Regions from separate parts of the Homo sapiens genome. Here region 1 is linked to region 2. Evidence: promoter capture Hi-C in human tissues and cell types (Jung and others, 2019). All regions are on one chromosome and are shown on one strand. The core of a region is centred on a gene start or on the middle of the fragment in contact, and the rest is flanking DNA. Distances in the headings are between cores, read along the strand shown. Region 1 has its middle 90 kb from the start of FLJ40288. Region 2 holds the start of CHCHD3 (coiled-coil-helix-coiled-coil-helix domain containing 3).

Region 1 (2,700 bases), core at 82-2,581, 340 kb after region 2:
TCTGTAAAATGAACTTGATCCCTGTCTTACCTGTTTCCTGAAGTCATCGTCCACATAGAATGGGGTAACTTGCTTTGAGAAGTGTACAGAAATATGTAAATATAAACAGCCTTATCTTCCTGATGTGAGGATTTGCTGCATTCACCATTTCTCCTCTTCTGGGCGTATGTACAAGCCATTCACCTGCTTTGGGCATCTGCTTCCTAGCCTTCTTGCCATCTGGTCTTTCCTTCCTTCCAAATCTCGTGGCACAAAGCTCATACCTCTTCAGTAAGTCCTCTTTGATTAACTCCATCTCACCTGGATCGTCCTTGATGTTTTTCTCCAACGCCAGAATATGATGTTCTCTTTAAATTAAATACCATATACTTGTGTGTTTCTGCCAAGTGTTCATTCTGGCTTCTCATTAAATTGTTAGCTTTTGGAGGGCAGTGACTGGAGATTATTTCCCACATTTGCAGCAGGCATCAACAGCAAAGTCCTGTTCATCAGTGTGGACCACTAACTTGTCTTTACATCCCACGTGCATTTCTCACTGATCTTCACAAATTAGCATTACCCAAAAAGCAATCAAGTTTAGGATGTTTGTAGACATTTTCCTGCATGTATAACTCAGTCTTTTCCTTATTAAAGCAATGCCTGGCTCTCAAAGTTTTATTGGTATCAAAGTTTTAATTGAGTATCAGCCAGTGAGGGAGGGAACAGAAGCATTCATTTTTGGTTTTCATTCGCAGGAGTGTGTCTCCATCAGCACACCACTGAGATTTCAACATCGCTATCCTTCCTTCCTTCTCTTTCAAGTCATTCCAAGCCCAGCGATATTCGAAGGGATGAGTCATTGTCTAAATGTGGAGGCTGTCATTCTGCATGCACAACTGTGCTGGCTTGGGTACCATCCCAGTCTGTGATGGGAAGCATGGCTCTGACCTCACAGGGAAGAGAATTCTGAATGTAATCCTCTGTAAACTTAGAAGTGACATAAATCATGATTTGATCTTTTTTGGGGACTCAAGCTGATGCTCTGGGGATTTACATAATGAACAGACTGCTGCAGTGCAGTAGAAATAACACCATTCTTGGAGACAGGAGACCTCAGTTGGAGTCTAGCTCTTGCACTCACTAGTTGTGTGACCTTGGGAAAGCCATGTTACCCCTCTGGACCTCAGAGAGGAAGCAGGTTAAACTGGATCATCTTAAAGTTAGTTTCCATAAGGACCCAAAATTCTACTGAAAGTTATAAGATAATGCGAACCTAATCAACAAGGACTTTGTAATGTTTTCTTGGTCTCCTAATGTTTCTGCTGATCTGGAGAGGTGGTGGGGAGAGGGAGACTCTTCGGGAGTAACTTTCTGGATGTCTAGCAGATACATATGTAACAGGTTGTGAAAGGAAACCAGAAATGAGAGTGGAAATGGGGAAAGAGATGAAAGAAAAGTAGAAAAGAGGACGTTCTGTGTTTCCCTCCACACTGCCATCCCTCTGGTTAATTGTAGGTTTCTGACTGCTTCCAAGCTATCCAGGGTAGTTACTGATATCATGCAAGGCACAGGGTGTGAACCTGCATCAGCCCCAATTCAGGGCTGGGATGATCCCCCAAATCATTGTGTTTCAGGGACAAATGTTTATGGGCATTCTGTCTGCCCTGAGAGGCTAAACCCACTGACCTGGGACACTCAGGTGTTGAGCCCTAGTCCTAAATTGTGGCTTTCTTGATTATTACTTGTCAGGGTTATTGTTTCTTAAACCTGCCTTCCGAAAGAAGTGTCTTGTGACAAAACCAGCCTGGAAAATATGCTGGGTTGGATGAAATCAAACAGATTTCTACATTGCAAGGTTTCTTAGAGTCTTTTATTGCTAAATGTATACTGCGTATACTGCTAACATCTAAGAGGGGAGTATAATATGCAACATTTCTTAAACTTATTTGATCATGCAGACCCCTCCACTCAAACTCAACCTCTATTTATTTACTTACAAGACTTCTAATAGACCTCTGAGAAGCAGCTTTTTGGGAAATACTGCTCTAAGTTGATGACTGTCTAGAATGTTCCACCCTAAACCTCATCCCTTTGGGAGGTCAGTCCTGATTAAGTCCAGGAGGATGGATGAGTCAGGGCTGACAGTGCCATTCCTGGCACCATTCCTCTTTAATGAAAACCTGAAAACCAAGAAAGGAGATTGGACCACGTGTTCAAACAAAGGCTATGTGAGTCAAGTGAGTGTTATATTAGGGATCCTGCATCCATATGACTTTCAAAGCCCCAGATGCTTTCCACAAGATGAAATAGTTAGAAGCGATTTCATCCACTCCTAGCCCCCACCACCACCCCTGCCTCGCCCTCCCCAGGCCCCATCTGAGATGTCAGTCACCCGCCTGGCATTCCCAACAAGCCTGTTTGTGAGTGCCTCAGTGATAGGAGGCTTCCTGTATTCATTACATCTTTGAATGGCTCTGTTTAGTGAAAGTCTTGCCATAGACAACTCCTCAAAAGAATTTTGCTCCCTGGGAGAGACTCTTTTCCCATTCATTTCTTAACAGATATTTATTGAGCACTTACAATGAGTAGGAAATAATGAGTGATCAAAGGTATAGAACAGTATCCTGACCTCAGGAAGCAAGGAAGACATGTACACAAAGAAATAGGAGGGTGCTTATGGCTGGAGGTGAGAAAGTGCTGGGAGTATCAGAGAAGGGAGAG
Region 2 (2,700 bases), core at 63-2,562:
TGATGATCCTGACCCCGTGTAGGTCTAGGCTAATGTGTGTGTGTTTGTCTTAATTTTTAACAAAAATGTTTAAAAAGTAAAAAGTAAATAATTTCAAAAATAGAAAAAGCTTATAGACTAAGTATATAAAGAAAGAAATATTTTTGTACAGCTATATAGTGTGTTTGTGTTTTAAGCTAAGTGTTATTAAAGAGTCAAAAAGTCACAAAAAAAGAAGTTTATAAGTTTAAAAAGTTACAGTAAGCTAAGGTCAATTTATTCTTGAAGAATGAAAATATATGAAAATAAATTTAGTGTTGCCTAAGTGCACAGTGTTGATAAAAGGTACAGTACTGCATAGTTGCGTCCCAGGCCTTCACATTCAACTCCCCACTCACTCACTGACTCACTCAGGGCAACTTCCAGTCCTGTAAGCTCCATTCATGGTAAGTGCCCTATAGAAGCATACCATTTTTTATCTTTGATTTTTTTTTTAATGGAATGCTTCAGAAATTCATGTGTCAACCTTGCTCAGGGGCTGTGCTAATCTCTGTATTGTTCAAATTGTCCTAGATGTGTTGCCAAAGCAATCACTTTTACACTGTTTTTGCTGTAGCTTTTCTATGTTTACATATATTTGTACACACAAATACCACTGTGTTACAATTGCCTACAGTATTTAGTACAGTGACATGCTGTACATCTTTGCAGCCTGGGAGCAATAGGTTACACCAAGTAGCCCAGGTGTGTAGTAGGCTACACCATCTGGGTTTGTGTAAGTACACTCTATGATGTTTGCACAACCACAGATATCACAGGGTCACCTAACGAGGCATTTCTCAGAAGTAGTCTTCATTAAGCTACCCTACGACTGTAATGAAACGCTAAGTTTTGAGCCAGGAATTTGTGTATAGAACACTAGGAATGGCTTCATTAGTATCATGCATCTTTTTCATTAAACTGTGAGTCCCTTTGAGAGAAAGATTGTGTCTCTGAACTTAGTGGCCTAAATTTCTAGAATTATGTCTTCAAAAAGTTGCCCAGTTAGGCGTCTCTGGGGAGTCAAAACCACAACTCCCAGAATGCCGTGCTCCCTTAGCGCGCTCAGGCGCGGGGAGAGAATGTCCCATCACCCACCGCGCCAGATCGAGACCACAGTTCCCACTACACCCAGGGACTCCGCGGAAAGCTATCAAACACCACCTGTTGCCATAGCATCCGGGTCGGGTGAACCAATCCGGGCGCCCTCGCCGAACAGAGGCGGGCAGTTCGCATCGCCGACCAACCTGAGGCGTTTTTGTTGTGGCGCGTGACCGGAGGAGGCGGGAGCTCAGGACCGGCGCCTTCTCCTTGCTTCTGGGGGTCGTGGCCTTGCTCCCGCTGTGCGGGAAAAGAATCCAGGCCCTTCCACGCGCGTGTGGGTGCGGGGGCCCCGAAGTGCTCGTGGTTCCCCGCTAGGTCTCCGCTGGGGCAGGAACCGGAATCATGGGTGGGACCACCAGCACCCGCCGGGTCACCTTCGAGGCGGACGAGAATGAGAACATCACCGTGGTGAAGGGCATCCGGGTGAGTGCCCGTGGACGGGCGGAGGGCCAGTGGTTGGACTCGGACCCCAAGGCCCCATCTTCTCCGGACCCGCTCAGCCTGGGTTTCTCCCGTCCTGGACCCTAGCGTATTAAGGCCAGAAGCCCAGGTGTCTGGGAAGAAGCCTAGAGTTTCAAGACGTGGGACATTCATTCAGAGATAGTTCCTGGTTGTGCCAAGTGCTAGGCACTGCTGGGGCGGGCGGGGAATGCCAGGTTGAATTATACCCTGCAAGGGCTCACAGTCTACTCGTAACTGTACTGCTCCCTTGTTGCAGGACCGTATTTGAAACCCATACCTCGGTGTACTTGTCTGTGAAATGGTTTTCCTGGGTTCAGGACCCAAACCCTGCTTTTCCACTGTGCACACCCTGTCTCCCAGGGTGAATTGGCATTTTAAGGATTGCCTTTGCTTTGTGTCATTTAGTGCTCTCCCTCTGATAACACCCCCTCCTCCCACCCACTCCCCACACCCTGTCATCCTCCCTCCCAGCCCCACAGTCTTTTCTGACCTGCCTGGGGCGGCTTCTGGCTTCTCCCTGCTTCACTTTCACTTGATATCTCCTCTTTCCCAGGCGCCTCCTCTGTGACCTGCTGCGCCGAAGTTTTGGATTAGGCCCAGTTGCTTCAGGACTAGTGTCTGCCAGTCTGATAGGGGCTGAGATGGGTTTGCAGTTTTTCATACCAGTAGAAGTAATGTAGTCATTTCTGACCAACGTTGTAGAGCACTTTTTTTTTAATGCCCTTTGCATGCACCTGATACATAAACTGAAAACCTGGTTTTTCTCTAGGGTGTCAGTATACCAGCACTAACTTCATTAACACACTCTCCGCTGCGCCTGAATTTGGAGCCTCACATTTTTGGACGTATGATGCCTGAACCTAGTAAATAAAGCAATTTTGACTTCAGAAAGTTTTATAATAATTTATATATTTTTTTCTGTTATCAACCAGCGTAAATAAATTACATTTGTAAATTATTTTTAACAGTTGTTACCAGGAAATAAAACTTCTTAAATATTTAAAATGTTTAAAAACTTTTTCTTCTGAAACTGTTACCTTGAGAATAATTTATTAAACTTTTCTTCATAGAAACTCAGACTGTCGAACTCAGTTTTTGGTCTGTGACCAGTATTTC

Evidence for each region. Contacts are between HindIII fragments. The study calls those that stand out against the background at their distance.
Region 1: a contact is called between a fragment that was not itself captured here and the fragment with the promoter of CHCHD3 in region 2, in 2 of the 25 tissues and cell types used here (dorsolateral prefrontal cortex and hippocampus).

What each region holds. Positions count from the first base shown.
Region 1 is chr7:132,737,888-132,740,587 of GRCh38, reverse strand. No RefSeq gene overlaps it. Among named protein-coding and RNA genes, the nearest start is that of FLJ40288, 90 kb to the right of the region's middle. RefSeq lists an enhancer at 1-158. The HindIII fragment of the contact is 3,867 bases long and covers 1-2,700 here.
Region 2 is chr7:133,080,702-133,083,401 of GRCh38, reverse strand. CHCHD3 (coiled-coil-helix-coiled-coil-helix domain containing 3) reads left to right here and starts at 1,312. Exons shown (of 8, transcript NM_017812.4): 1 at 1,312-1,545. The coding sequence starts at 1,465. It also overlaps the pseudogene RNU6-92P. RefSeq lists enhancers at 1,030-1,139, 1,350-1,529, 945-1,579. The HindIII fragment of the contact is 7,286 bases long and covers 1-2,700 here.